Regions from separate parts of the Homo sapiens genome. Here all the other regions are linked to region 3. Evidence: promoter capture Hi-C in 16 types of primary human blood cells and fetal thymus (Javierre and others, 2016). All regions are on one chromosome and are shown on one strand. Each heading gives the region's core, a stretch centred on a gene start or on the middle of the fragment in contact. The rest is flanking DNA. Distances are from core to core; before and after follow the strand shown. Region 1 holds the start of LOC105373124 (a long non-coding RNA gene). Region 2 overlaps LOC124904538 (a long non-coding RNA gene). Region 3 holds the start of MRPL55 (mitochondrial ribosomal protein L55). Region 4 holds the start of RNF187 (ring finger protein 187).

Evidence for each region. The method cuts DNA at HindIII sites, captures the fragments that hold promoters and counts their contacts. A CHiCAGO score of 5 or more calls a contact.
Region 1: a fragment that was not itself captured here is called in contact with the fragment with the promoter of MRPL55 in region 3 in 3 of 17 cell types (naive B cells, total CD8 T cells and naive CD8 T cells); the score reaches 7.7 in naive B cells.
Region 2: a fragment that was not itself captured here is called in contact with the fragment with the promoter of MRPL55 in region 3 in 6 of 17 cell types (naive B cells, total CD4 T cells, activated CD4 T cells and 3 more); the score reaches 9.3 in naive B cells.
Region 4: the fragment with the promoter of RNF187 here is called in contact with the fragment with the promoter of MRPL55 in region 3 in 2 of 17 cell types (erythroblasts and naive CD8 T cells); the score reaches 6.1 in erythroblasts.

What each region holds. Positions count from the first base shown.
Region 1 is chr1:228,507,959-228,511,828 of GRCh38, reverse strand. LOC105373124 (a long non-coding RNA gene) reads right to left here and starts at 3,782. Exons shown (of 3, transcript XR_949233.3): 1 at 3,707-3,782; 2 at 2,995-3,128; 3 at 1,697-1,938. It also overlaps the pseudogene BTNL10P. RefSeq lists an enhancer at 190-691. The HindIII fragment of the contact is 4,514 bases long and covers 1-3,870 here.
Region 2 is chr1:228,438,569-228,442,164 of GRCh38, reverse strand. LOC124904538 (a long non-coding RNA gene) reads left to right here. Exons shown (of 2, transcript XR_007066919.1): 1 at 1-408. Among named protein-coding and RNA genes, the nearest start is that of H3-4, 15 kb to the right of the region's middle. RefSeq lists a silencer at 1,492-1,776. The HindIII fragment of the contact is 955 bases long and covers 1,815-2,769 here.
Region 3 is chr1:228,107,927-228,111,372 of GRCh38, reverse strand. It overlaps MRPL55 (mitochondrial ribosomal protein L55), which reads left to right and starts at 2,074. Exons shown (of 5, transcript NM_181463.3): 1 at 2,074-2,224; 2 at 2,352-2,418; 3 at 3,055-3,138. The coding sequence starts at 3,113. RefSeq lists a silencer at 1,629-1,718 and enhancers at 1,989-2,158, 2,427-3,140, 3,141-3,446. The HindIII fragment of the contact is 15,311 bases long and covers 1-3,272 here.
Region 4 is chr1:228,485,791-228,489,268 of GRCh38, reverse strand. RNF187 (ring finger protein 187) reads right to left here and starts at 1,887. Exons shown (of 4, transcript NM_001010858.3): 1 at 1,391-1,887; 2 at 217-309. The coding sequence starts at 1,780. RefSeq lists enhancers at 1-440, 441-1,169, 1,287-2,147, 2,449-2,828, 2,148-3,009 and silencers at 1,249-1,448, 1,709-1,828. The HindIII fragment of the contact is 25,988 bases long and covers 1-3,478 here.

The sequences.
Region 1 (3,870 bases), core at 746-3,245, 400 kb before region 3:
GATGGAGAGCAAAAGTGGCAGTACAGAGGAAGGACCACCTTCATGAGTGACCACGTGGCCAGGGGCAAGGCCATGGTGAGGAGTCACAGGGTCACCACCTTTGACAACAGGACATACTGCTGCCGCTTCAAGGATGGTGTAAAGTTCGGCGAGGCCACTGTGCAGGTGCAGGTGGCAGGTAAGGCTGGTGGCTAGCTGGCTGTCAGTCTACTTCCAGGCATGGCCTTGGGGCCCAGCGTGTTCAGGTGGAGGGCTTTTCAGTAGGGTGAGAGTGCACTCTCCCAGCTGCCGTGCTGGCCTGCACTGCTCCCGGGAAGCACAGCGGTGAAGGCAGAGCCACCTTCCTCATCTTCCTTTCCCTCCTTACACCAGTGGACTGGAAAGTGAAGGGAAGGGAAAGAGAGAGATGGGGGGAATGAGAGAGACACAGAGAAGAAGAGATAGAATGAGAAAGAAGCAGGGAGAGACAGACAGAGGTGGAAAGAGAGATGGAGAGAAAGACAGAGAGATGAGAGAAAGACAGAGAGAGATGAAGAAAGAATGACAGAATTATAGAGATGGGGAAAGAGAGAGATGGAGAGGGAGGGACAGGCAGAGACAGAGAATGAAAGACAGGAGAGACAGAGATGGAGAGAGACAGAGAGAATGAGAAACTGAGAGAAACACAGAGAGAATGAAAGAGACAAAGAGACAGAGTCAGTGACAGAGAGAGGGAGATAGAGACAGAGACAGAGAGACAGTAAAAGAAAATGAGAAAGACAGTAAGCAACAGAGAGTGGGAGGAAGAGAGAGACAGAGAAATAATGACAGGAGACAGAAAGGCCAAGAGAGAGAAGAGAGTCTTCAGATACGGGAGGTTTCCCGAGTGACTCAGAACTTGTGCTTCGAAACAGACAAGCCTGGGTCCCATCTTGTGCCATGAATTCTACTTCTGCAACACAGGATGCCTATTCAATCTTCCTGGACCTTTTCCACTTTGCTTCCCTTCTTTTGTCTGGGAAATGGGGAACTCTGTTAGGGATGGTGTGTAACACAGGGTAGGCAGTTTGTGAAATTGCCAAAATACATTGGAAATCCTCAAGATTTTGTTTTTCCTTTAAATAGAAGCAGCCATGGCTGCAAAGATTCAAGCTGCTGTCTCTTCCTTCAGGGCTGGGCAGAGAGCCCAGAATCCAGGTGACAGACCAGCAGGATGGAGTCAGGGCGGAGTGCACATCAGCAGGCTGTTTCCCCAAGTCCTGGGTGGAACGGAGAGACTTCAGGGGCCAGGCTAGGCCTGCTGTGACCAATCTATCAGCCTCAGCCACCACCAGGCTCTGGGCTGTGGCATCCAGCTTGACGCTCTGGGACAGGGCTGTGGAGGGTCTCTCCTGCTCCATCTCCAGCCCCCTCCTCCCTGAAAGGAGGAAGGTGGCTGAGAGCCACCTGCCCGGTGAGTCCTCTATTCAGTTCTGTCCTCACAATCACTGAGCACAGGATTCCGTGGCCCTGGACACTGGGGACATTAAGAGACAGCTGTGGGGTTTGTGGCAAGCAGGGATGGGTGGCAGGTCCCTGTCCTCACATGGCTGGGGCATCCCAGGAGGTGCACTGTTTGGGTGCTGATTACTGAAGAGGAACAGAGATAAGGGTGCAGGGACCCTGGGGAGAGCCTTGCCTTTGGGGGAACAAGAAATGTACATCCTAATATCAACAGTTTTTAGGGTTTTTTAAAATAGGCTTTATTTTTTAAAGCAGTTTTAGGGTCACAACAAATTTTAGTAGAAAGTCCAGAGAGTTCCCATCTTCCCCTAACCCCCTCACACACCTTCCCCCAGCATAAAAACCCTACACCAGAAGGAACGTCCACCATGTTTGATGAACTTCCGTTGACAATGCCGTCAGCACCCAGAGTGCAGTTTTCATGAGGGCTCACTCTTGGCATGGTGTCCCATGGTTCTAGATAAATATATAATGCCACATATCTGTCATAGTATCATACAAAATAATGTCACTGCCCTTAATCCTCCGTGCTCCGCTCATTCATTCATCTCCCCTAACTCCTGGCCACCACTGATGTTTTCACTGTCTCCATAGTTTCCAGGTGTTCTGGAATGTCCTGTAGTTGGGACGGTGCCTCTGTAGCCCCTTCACTTTGACTTCCCTCACTTTGTGGTACGCATTTAGGTTTCCTCCATGTCTTTTCCTGCCTTGATAACTTGTTTCTTTTGTGAAATGAATAACGTTCCAGGATCTGGATGGACCACTGTTTATTGATCCATTCACCTACTAAAAAATATCTTGGTTGTTTCCAAATTTAGCTTTTCACAAAAACTTTCACTTTTACTTTTCTAAATGATGTCAAACTTACAGAAACTTTGCAAGATTAATAGAAAAGTTGTCTGTGCACCCTTTACTCAGATTCACCATATTTTTACCTTATTGCGATATTTCTTTTTATCACTTCTCCCTTTGTCTATCTACAAATAGATATCTAATATCTACTTCCTATGCATATGTCTAAACCCAACTGTCTTACTCCATTTGTGTGCCTATAACAAAATACCACAGACCAGGTGGCTTAGAAACAAGAGATAGCTATTGCCCACAGTTTTGTAAGCTGGGAAGTCCAAGATCAAGGCGTGGCAGATTTGGTGTCTGGCAAGGGCACTTCCTGGTTCATAGACAGCGCCTTCTCACTGTGTCCTCACATGGTGGAAGGGGTGAGGGAGCTCTCTGGGCTCTCCCCTTTATAAGGGCACCATTCCCATCATATCCGTTACAGGGGCTCCACCCTCATGACCTCATCACTTCCCAAAGGCCTCACCTCCTAACATCATCACCGTAGGGGTTGGGATTTCAACCCCTTTGGGGGACACAGACATTCGGTCCATAGACCAGCTGTGCAAATACATACTATTTTGGAAACTATTTCACAGTAATTTGCAAATATTATGTCCCTGGACTACTGAACTCTTTAGCAAGTTTGACCTCAGAACACAGAAACTCTCTTACCCCAATATTCCTGGCTTCTGGGAATCTTCTCCAGCTACCTTCTCCAGAAGCTCCCAGTTCACGGCATGGAAAGCAGCTCTGCCTCTGATCCTTGTTGCCATGGGACTCGTAATAGCTGGAGGCATCTGCATCTTCTGGAAACGTCAAAGGGAAAAGAACAAAGCATCACTGGAAGAAGAGAGGGAGTGAAGAGAAAAGGAGCAGAGGCGGCCCACCAGCAGCGACAAGGCTGAGCCATGGCGTGGTGAGCAGGGAGCCCCGACAAGGCACATCCTGCCCCCCCACCCCAAATCCAGGACCCTAACACGAAGCCCTGAGCTGAGGCTTCGTCCATGTGTCCTCAGACACAGTAGGAATGGGGTGGCCAGTGGGGATCCTCCCTCTGGCATTGCCTGATTATGATCTACCCAGTGAGACCATCTGTCTCCTAGCAATCCCTCAATTAAGTCTTCACTGGCTGATTTCAGGCAGGCTGGTTGGGCTCTGTCTTGAAAACAGACAGATCTGAGTTTGAACCCCAAGTCTGATGGGTGTGGGCTGAGGGACCTGGTGTGAGCCCTGAGCCACTCTGTCTGCTGGGAGTGCTGATACCATCCTGAAAGACCAACAGAGTAGCATTCAGAGCAAGGCCGCGTCAGGGAGGGTTTACAGTTGCAATCACTGTGATTATTCTCAATATTGACTGTGTCCTTCATTCATTCACTTCACTCACTTCCTCCTCTGTCATTTCAGGAGCTGAGGACTTGTTCCTAGACTTCAGAGCCCTATTTTGAGAGTAGAGATTGTGCTCAGCTGGTTATAAAGACTGCATTATGACAGAGTTGCTTGTGGTGGCTTGCAGCTGTCATCCAGCATTTTGGGAGGCTGAGGCGGGAA
Region 2 (3,596 bases), core at 1,043-3,542, 330 kb before region 3:
AAAAAACACAGACACAGGATGGAGTCTTTGTGGCAATAAGGTGACAAATTATAAACAAGACCTAAGGGTTAAGTCAGCACCCTACACTTAAAGAATAAACCATGTTTTCACTGCTGCAAGGGTTTTCTTTTACTCCAGCAGCTAACCAAGCACTGGCCTCCAGCTAAGCAACATTAAGACAATTGCAGCTTACCCAGCTCACAGAGGCTGACTCTCCGACCCCCTGCTCCACCAGCCATGATGGCAGCATTCACTGGACAAGACACTGACTTCAAGAGCTTTCTGCTGATGAGAGACCACGACCTTGGGCTAGTCCTGGCCAGTTTACAGACGCTGTGCACTTGAGCACCTTTGAGTCCTGGAAAGACCTAATTGGAATACATTTACATGTGAAGCCTCCACCTCAAGGTAAGCATGCATCACATGTCATGTGCATGTGTGTTCCGTGAACATGTGTGAAGGCTACCCTCATGGATCTCCATAGTCCTCCCGTAGGCTGTGGAATATGTGTGTTTGGCAAAGCCAAACAAGCACAGAGCTCCTGCCCCAACTCCTCCCTCCCCCAAAGTGCCTGGGCTTGGCCCAGGCACTGGGTTTGGCCAAGGCTGTGCTTCCCTGCCCGAGGGATGGCCACTTTGCAGGCTGTAACCCTCTACAAGAAGTGAAATCTGCTTTTCCAATTTATAGATCCTGTGATTTTTTCAGTTAACGCAAAGATAAAGCTGGACATTAAAGCAGTGAAAACAGATTTCCATTCAGTGCCAGCTGCAGTCAGTACAGAGTCGCCTCCATTGTAATTTGTGTAGGGGTGGCGGGGTGTCTTAAAGGGAAGGAGATGGGGTGAGCGGGGGCTCCGTGCCAATCAGATGAGACCATCTGTGTCTGCTAGTCAGCCAGGCCCAAAGTCAGGATTCTACCTTCTGGCAGAGACTAAGGCCTTCTCCCTCCTGGTTTCAAAGGAATGGCTCTGGGTTCCTCGAGGAGCCACTGCTAGATTGTAGGAGACACATGGACATCTCAACACGCCAAAGGAAGCATTCCCAGTTGTGAGCTGGTTTCAGTAAATGCTCTAGGAAAGGAAGAGCCTGGACCAGTCTTCAGGTGTTGGCTGGAATAGAACAGCAAATTCCTGCCACAGCTGCTATGGTCTGAATATTTGTGTCCTCTGATGTAGAAAAAAAACAACTGTTTTTCCTCTGATCTCACAACACAACAATGAACACAGAAGACATCTGTGACCAAACATGTGAGGATTTCTCCCTATCAGCAAGCAAGCAAGCAACCAATGTTTTAGTGGGCACCAGTTAGGTGTCCTTGAACCCAATTTAATTCCGACTTCAGCCAGGCACAGTGGCTCATGCCTTGGTAATCCCAGCGTTGGGAGGCAGAGGTGGGAGGGAATTGCTTGAGCCCAGGAACTGGAGACCAGTCTGGGCAACATAGCAAGACTCTGTCTCTACAAGAATGAAATAAGTAGCTGAGCACGATGGTGCATGCCTGTAGTCCCAGCTGCTCAGGAGACTGAAGTAGGATTGCTTGAGCCCAGGAGTTCCAGGCTGCAGTGAGCTAGGGTCTCACCACTGCATTCCAGCCTCGGCAACAGAGCAAGACCCCATCTCAAATAATCATAACAATAAAAAAACTAAATAAATAAACAAATTCTGACAGTATCTACCTGGAGATTGCATCAGATCCTATAGGTTGAGGGCTCAGTCCCCGAGGCTGCCTCTACTTCAGACACCATGGGCAAGTCCAAGCCTCCAGAACTTCTGACCAGCTGTAACTTGGAGTTCCCTCGACTCCCTCTTTAAGCTTGATTAATTTGTTAGAGCAGCTCATAAAACTAGAGAAACACTTACTTACATTTACCTGTTTATTTAAAGAATAGTTTAAGGCTACAAATAAATAGCCAGATGAAGGAATGCAGAGGGAGAGTTCTGCAAAGGTCCAAGCGCAGGGCCTTCTGACCCAGCGGAGTTGGGCTGCGCCACCCTCCCAGCCTGCAAATGAATTCTCCCTCACCCTTCCTGCAAGCCCCCACGAGTTCAGCCCTCCAGAAGCCCCCAAAACCTGTCCCCTTGGGCCTTTTATGGAGACTTCATTGGATGGACATGATAGAAGACAGCCATGTAGAAATGTGACCGGACAGAAAGTGTGGATGTAACCCCAACAGACTGAGCGGGGAACCCCAGCAGAGCCCATGTGTTCAGACTCTTCTTGGCCTCTCTGGGCAGCATCCTTCCTCCTGGGTATGGGGCAGGACCCTCTCTGAACTGGGAGTCTTATGACCCACAATCAGAAAAGGGAAGTCAGAAAATGTCCTTATGGCCAGGTCCGAGACAGAAAGGTGGGGAAAGACTACAGTTTTCATTTCTGTGGCCTGCCTGGGGAGCAAAACGAGTAGGTAAAAGGAGGGTGGGAGAAGGTCGGAGAGATAGGTTCTGTTTTGGAGGCCTGAGCACCCCAACATTCTAACAAATACTGTTGCTGCAGGACTTTTCCTTAGTTCAGCTAGAGAACTCCGGCCTGTGTAGTGCCTTCAGCTAAGGCGAACAGTGAAAGATGTGGAGGAGGGGAGTTATGAGAAGCAGTGGTGGAGAGGGCCGGCGAGTTAAGGCCTGGCATGTAGATTTCACTGGTGCTGTCTCCTGGCTGATAAGCATCTAAAATCATCTCACATGATTAAATTGATTCCTTCCTGGTGGAGAGGCAAAGACAACTTTGTCCATTTTGTCCTGCTTTTAGGAAAATAGGGGCAAGCAGAAAGCTTTTTTACATCCGTTGTTTCTCAACAATGGATTATTATTGGCCTTCAGCTCCAAATAATCCTTGTGCCAAAGTGGCATCCTTTGGGGAAGAGGTGGCATCCCTTGAGGAGGGGGTGGCACCTTTTAGAGATGGGTGGCTTCCTTTGGAGAGAGGGTGGTATCCTTTGGGGAGGGGTGGCATTGTTTAAGGAGGGGGTGGCATCCTTTGGAGAGGGTGTGGCATCATTTTGGAAGGGGTGGCATCCTTTGGAGGGGGTGGCATCCTTTCGGGAGGGGATAGCACACTCTACAGAGGAGGTGCCATCCTTTGGAGAGTCGGTGGCATCATTTGGGGAGGGAATGGCACCCTTTGGAGAGGAGGGGGCATCCTTTGGGTGGCATCATTTGGGGAGGGGTGGCATCCTTTGGAGGGGGGTAGCATCGTTTGAGGAGGGCTGGCATCCTTTGGGGAGGGGATAGCATCGTTTGAGGAAGGGTGGCATCCTTTGGAGAAGGTGTGGCATTTTTGAGGAGAGGTGGCATTGTTTGGGGAGAGTTGGCATCCTTTGGGGAGGGGGTGGCATTGTTTGGGGAGGGGTGGCACCCTTTGAAGAGGGTGTGGCATCTTTGGGGGAGGGGTGGCATCATTTGGGAAGGGCTGGCATCCTTTGGAGAGGGTATGACATCCTTTGGAAAGTGTGTGGCATCCTTTGGAGAGAGGTGGCAACCTTTGGGGAGGGCACGGCACCCTTTGGGGAGGGGTGGCATCCTTTGGGGAGGGTGTGGCATCCTTTGGAGAGGAGTGGCATCCTTTGGGGAGGGTGTGGCATCCTTTGGGGAGGGTGTGGC
Region 3 (3,446 bases), core at 825-3,324:
CTAATTTTTGTATTTTTAGTAGAGAGGAGGTTTCACCATGTTGGTCAGGCTGGTCTCGAACTCCTGACCTCGTGATCCGCCTGCCTTAGCCTCCCAAAGTGCTGGGATTACAGGTGTGAGCCACTGCACCCCACCCACAATCTTTTATCTTAACCCAGACATTCCTTTCTGTTAATCCCAGGTCTTCAGGTAAATTCAACCAATTGTCAAACAGAAAATTTTTCAATCTACCTATAAGCTGGAAGCCAGCACCCTTGACCCCTGCTTCGAGTTGTCCTGCCTTTCTGAACCAAACCAATGTAGGTTTTAAATGTATTTGATTGATGTCTCATGCCTCCCTAAAATGTATAAAACCAAGCTGCACCCCAACCACCTTGGGAACATGTTCTCAGGACCTCTGTCCTGAGGGCTGTGTCACAGGCCATGGTTACTCATATTTGGCTCAGAATATATCTCTTAAAATATTTTACAAAGTTTGACTCTTTTCATCAACAGCAGCAAGCCACCAGCATTCCCAGTGAGGGAAGGGTAAAGGGAACTTTTTATCAGTGAAAAGGGAACTTTTATCAGCGAAAAGGGAGCGGTTCACAGAAGCTGCTTAGAAAGAGTTCATTGGTTCCAGGGGCCCAACGCCAAAGCTCAAAGTTGTCCTCAGTTCATTGGTGGCGCTGCCATTACTGGGCAAGTGTTTATTCCGAGCATCTTAACTGAATTACTGCAGTCCTAAAGATGGTCTAAATTTTGTCAAAGTAGGAGACCCGTGAATGACACAAAAGGGTTTCTTGTGGGGTTTTTAGAAAGTCCTTGCGAATAATTCTTATCTCAGACACTAAGCCTGAGCCTCCTGTTCTTCCCAGCCCTGTTTGTCTGGGCCTGACAAAGTGATTTCACTCCTTATTTGTAACTTTCACAAAACAAAGGCCCTGGTCTCATGAACTCATTGCACAAAGTGACCCTGGTTCGCTGAGGCAGATAGGCGATGCTATCTGCCTGCCCTGGTCCAAACATCTCATCTGGAATACTGCAGGCCAGTGGAAATGCCCGGAATAAGCTCTGTTTACAAGGTAATAGCGAGCCTCTCTGGCATTTCAGAAATGCGTGACAGCTGCTTCCTTAGGGCCCTCCCCACTCCATTTTGGTTACGTTGTGACATAAATTACTCCATTTTGCTGTGAACTACAGGGTCATTTCTCAGCCCCCGCCAACCCCGCGGATCCCCCCTCAGCCCCGCTGTATCAGCCTTTCGGATCCTCCTTCAGCCTCTCAGGTCCTCCTCAGCCCGCTGCGTGCCTCTTCAGCCCCCCTTGAACTTCCGTCATCCCCACAGATCCTCCCTCAGCCTCCCTAGATTCCCACCTCAGCGCCCATGGATCCTCCCTCACTGCCCCCTGGGACCTCCCTCAGTTCTGCAGATTCCCCCCTTAGCCTCCTGGGACCTCTCTCACCCCTTCTAGATCCTCTCTCAGCCCCGCAGATCCTTCCGCAGCTCCCCCTGGATCCTCCCTCAGCCCAGCTGGTGCCCACTCAGCCCCGCGGATCCTCCTTCCCTCAGCCCCCGCCCGGGTGCTCCCGCAGTCCCCCTGGGTCCTCCCTCAGCCCAGCTGATGCCCCTTCAGCTCCGAGGATCCTCCCTCAGCCCCCCTGCGTCTTCCCTCAGCCCCCTGCGTCCTCCCTCAGGACCCCTGGGTCCTCCCTCAGCCCTCCGGGACCTCTATCAGCTCTCCTGGATCCTCCCTCAGCCCTGCGGATCCTCCCTCAGCTCCCCACCCCGGGTCCTCCCTCAGCACTCCCCCACTCCGTCCTCCCTCAGACCCGCGGGTCCCCCTCGACCTCGCCGGCCCGCCCTGGTCCTCCCGGTAGGGACGGAGGTCACCTGCTCGCCGGCCCCGCCTGGGTTCTTGTACCGCCACAGCGCCCCCGCAGGCCCCGCCCACCTAGGCTTCGTCCCGCCCCCGAGATTACATCACGCCGCGCCGGCCCCGCCCAACAGGGGCGTATATCTTCGTGTCTCACCGCCCACTCTTGCCTCTCCCTGCCATGGAACACGTCATACCGCGCGACGCAGCGCCTGCCAGTGACGTCGTGGGCTGCAGCGCAGCAGCACCCAACGCAGTGAGTACCTTGATCTCCTGCGTGGCCTCGTCCCTGGTCTTAGTTCCACCGGGCAGCGGGAGTCAGGACCGCCTGTCCTCAGACCCCTCCGCAGCGACTGTGGCGGCCGCAGGTTGGCGCCTCGTGTGGGCCGGGAACAGAGGCGGGAGGCGCTGTACCCTCCCGGTGGAGTCGGGAGGGAGGGAGGCAGGGAAGGGGACAGGGGGCTGCACCTGTGATAAGCCCTTGTCCCCATGCAGTCTAGCAGGAAAGGAGAGGGAGCTTTCCCCGAAGACCCTCCTGGACCAGCCCCAGGCTCCTGTGCTGGTGAGGCCGAGGGAGAGGGATGTGGGCATAGGACACGTAGCAGGATTTCCATTTTAGAGGCAGCCGGACCTGTCTTCAGGTCCCTTCCTTGGTGAGAGACAGGGGTACGCCAGAGGAAGCTGGGCGCTCGGCCTCTGTGCAGCCTCATCTCCTGGAATCTGAGTATTGAAAACTGGGCTTTTACTTCGCACACCTCAGCACAGACTCCCATGGGAATCCAGGTCACAGCAAAGCAGCCCTGGGCCTCCATTCTCCTTTAAGCAAGCATGACAATCCTCACTTCACTGAGTTTTTATTAAAACTAGCAATGACCTTAGAAAGCAAGGCATGACCTCAGCTCCACTTTTGAGGCTGCAGTCCATTCAGAGAGGTTTCGCAGACTCGGTAACGGCCAGAACAGACAGCCTGGGCCCTGCCGCAGGCTGACTCAGAATCTTTGGGAGTAGTGACCAACTTCTGCTTTTGGAAAAACCTCTACAGGCGGTTCTGAGAAGTCCAAGGGTTGCTGGGAGAGGTTGGTGAGTGGCGTGGTGATTACATGTGTCTTGGAAGCATCCTGGGCTGGGATTTGATAAGAAACCATTAGGTGGAAGAACCTTCCTTTTAAAAAAGATCTCTTCATTCTCTGCCTAGCAGGTTGCACGCCAGGGCCTGTACTGACCACCTCCACGTGCCACTGGGGCTGTAAGGAGGAATGGCGGCCGTGGGCAGCCTGCTTGGGTAAGCATGGACTTTTAGGTCCCTGGGGATTACTGTCAGGGGCCACCCCAGGGAACCCCTCTCTTCAGCAGGAAACCGCCATTCTAATCCTCCCTAGTCCTTGCTATTGTCCACTGTCCCCTGTGCTGGAAGCTTTGTGCCCTTGCTCAGCCTGGCAGCCTCTTCCTGGCTAGGGGGCCAGAACGCCTCTGACCACAGCCTGTGGCTCCTGAGGAAGCCCCGAGGCTCATCCTGCCCCGGCACGGGTCACCAGCTCTGGTAATGTCTCCTGTGGCCCGGCAGTGCCCAATCACAGCCAGCCTCAGTCA
Region 4 (3,478 bases), core at 638-3,137, 380 kb before region 3:
AAGAGGCTTCCACTGGCTTTGGCTAGATTCTATTTGAGAAATACAAACACATCCTAAAAAAAATACCCTGAAGCTCACTTAAGTCCAGAGGCCCCTCCTCCAACCAACCAGCTGAGCAGTTCAGAGGCCTGGCCCACTTGGCCTGGTGGTCCCTTTGTCTAGAGCCCTGAGCCCACAGTCCCCTCATTCCAGGCTGCCCCAGGTCCCCCCACTTGCCTTCCACACTGCAGCTGCTGACTCTGCCTGGCCATGCAGGTCCCGGGCGTCATTCAAGTCCTTTCTCATGATTTCCACAGACCCCTTGTTCTCCTGTAAAGAAAAGAAGGTCACCAGGGGTGGGCAGAAGCTCTGGGTCCCCCAACCCAGCCCAGTACTGAGGGACATCACCCCAGCTGACTGCACACAGTCTGACCATCCCAGAGATAACCTCGAAGCCCGGTTGTCTAGGGCAGGAACGCACAGGCAGTCAAAAGGTTTCTTGGGCTTCACACCTATTCAGAAGGATCTGGGTGCTGGGGCTAAGGGGACTGTCTAGGTGGGTTTAGGAGTTCTGTGTCTGTAAGTGGCCCTGTTCAGTGTGAGTTCGGCCTGTACCAAAGGTCTGCACAGCCTGCCCTACACCCTGCCCTGCCTGAGCCGGATGGGGGTCGCTCTGCCCGGTGGCAGGACCCCCAATGCAGGAGGAGCACCCAGGGACACAGTCTGGCTGGCTTCCCCTCCCCTGTATTGAAGAGCAGGACCCCAGGCTGGCTGTTGTCTCCTATTCTGTGTCCCACAACCAACCCGCCATGGGCAAGGCTCCAGACTCCCGGACCCGCTGCTGCCAGACTCTCAGAGCGGGTTTCTGAAAGATGGGAGAGGGGACAGGGGGTGCAGGCGAGGGCTGGGTGGCCCGGGGAGCAGACGAGAAGGTGGGCCAGGCCTGTGGACACAGTGGAATACAGAGGGGCAAGAGGCGTGATGTCTCCCCCAAGGGAAGAGTGAGTGGAGGAGTCAATCTGTAGGAACTAGAGGGGGTCTATGAGGGCGAGACAGGGCACAGCTAGTGATGGGACCACAAAGATGGGCGCTGGTGGGGGAAGGACTTCGTAGAAGGTAGGGGGTGGGGAGATAAGGCACCGCCCAGCAGGGGACACCAAGACGGGGAAGGGGACCAGACTCCGAAGAGACGCAGGAAATATGGGGAGGCAAGCCGCAGGAGGGAGGGGCCCAGCACACGCTGGAGAGGGGACCCGTGGCGGTGAGGGGAGGGGGACAATCCGGGGACGGGGACAATCCGGGGACAGGAACAGTGGAGACGGGAAGGGCCCAGGGCTCAGGGGGACCGGGGCGGGGGCGGAGAGGCGCAGGGCACCGTCCGGGGTGGGGCACGGGACCCCGCGGCGCGCACCTTGCCGCGCAGCGCCTTCCTCCAGCGCGGTTCCCACTCGGGCGGCTCGGGGCCCGCAGCCATACGGCAGGCGGCGCAGAGCGGGCCGGCGTCGGCGCGGCACAGCAGCTGCAGCGCGGCCTCGCTGGCCGGGCCGTCGCGCGCGGGCGCCGCGGCCGCCTCCTCGAGCGCCAGAAGGCGGCGGCTGAGCGGGGGCCTGCCGGGCTCCACGGCGCGCTGCCAGCAGTCGTCGGCGCACTCGGGGCACGGGAAGGGCCCGTCCTCCTCGGCCCAGAAGCGCACCACGCACGCCCGACAGAAGCGGTGGCCGCAGTCGGCGCGCACCGGTTCCCGGGGCGCGCGCTGGCACAGGGCGCAGGCGGCCTCGGCGGGGCCCGCAGGGAGCGCCAGGGCTGCGGGCGGCGGGGCCGGCAAGGGCGCAGGAGCGGCTGGGGAGGGCCGGAGACCTAGACGGCCGGCGACCGGACGGAGACCAGCAACAGGACGAAGACGCCAACGCCGGGGACGCGCACGGGGCGGGGTCGGGGACGCGCACGGGGCGGGGTCCGGACCGCGGAGCGCTCTGCCGATAAGATCCTGGCAGCGGTGTGCTGCAGCCGGAGGTCCTGGCCGCGCTGCGCTCCACAGACAAGATCCTGGCAGCAGTGTACTGCATCCTTAGGTCCTGGCCGCGGTGGGCTTCTCCGCCTGGATCCTAGCGGCGGTGCGCTCCTCCGCCTTGATTTTGGCAACTATGCTCTCCACCTGCAAGGTCCTGGCAGCGGCGCACGTCACCGCGCAAGTCCTGGCAGCTGCGCGCTTCACTCTACTGCCTGCGGACCGGCCCAAGTCGTATCCTGAAATCTTACTGGGCTGTCCCTTCCTACTTCAGTAACTCCTGCGAAAGAGGGAAACAAAGTTTTATTTTTACTTGAAGGTTCCATTTTTAAAAGGTTGTTTTTGTAAGCTGCTAGGATCTGAGCTGCGCGTACCCCCGCGGTAGCTCGCCCGCGTGGGCTGGGGACGGGGCGGGAAATGGCCTGCGTGGGCCTCCTCCGCTGCTCTCATCCTGCACGGACCCGCCCTGCATGGGCACGCCCTGCGTGCACGGGCCTGCCCGCGTGGACGTGCCCTGCGTGCACCCTTCCTTCAGGGACCCGCCCTTGAACGGCCCTCCGGACGTGGACACTCGTATACGCCCACCCTGCGTGGGATCTCCCTGCGTGGACCCATCCCGCTGAGCCTCTTCTCGCGCAGCCTCCCTCTGGCCCCCTGGGAAGCTACCCTGGTTGTCCGCTGTCTCCTGGCTGGGGGGAGCTCTCATTGATTCTGTGATGATGCATGACAGAAGAGCATTTGTTAGCTTTGCTTTGCTTTTCTTTCTTTTTTGAGACAGCCTCGCTCTGTTGCCAGGCAGGCTTGAGTGCAGTGGCGCGATCTCGGCTCACTGCAACCTCCGCGTCCCGGGTTCAAGCGATTCTCCTGCCTCAGCCCCCCGAGTAGCCGGTATTGCAGGCGCCTGCCACGACGCCCGGCTAATTTTTGTATTTTTAGTACAGACGGGGTTTCACCATGTTGGCCAGGCTGGCCTCGAACTCCTGACCTCGTAATCCACCCGCCTCTGCCTCCCAAAGTGCTGGGATTACAGGCGTGAGCCACTACACCCGGCCGTTAGCTTTTCTTTAAAAAATAAATTTAAAGGAAAGAAATAAGCCTTTGGGAAGAGCAATCTTGTGTTTTTGTTTTTTAATTATTTTGAAAACAAGCAAGCATGGTTAAAATAAGATTGTGCAAGTTTTGCATTTTAAAAAATTAATCTGGGCCGGGCGCCGTGGCTCACGTCTCTAATCCCAGCACTTTGCGAGGCCGAGGCGAGCGGATCACAAGGTCAAGATATGAGACCATCCTGGCTCATGGTGAAACCCCGTCTCTACTAAAAATACACAAATTAGCCGGGCGTGGTGGCGCATGCCTGTAATCCCAGCTACTCAGGAGGCTGAGGCAGGAGAATCACTTGAACCAGGGAGTCGGAGGTTGCGGTGAGCCAAGATCGTGCCACTGCACTCTAGCCTGGCGACAGAGCGAGACTCTGTCTTAAAAAACAAAAAC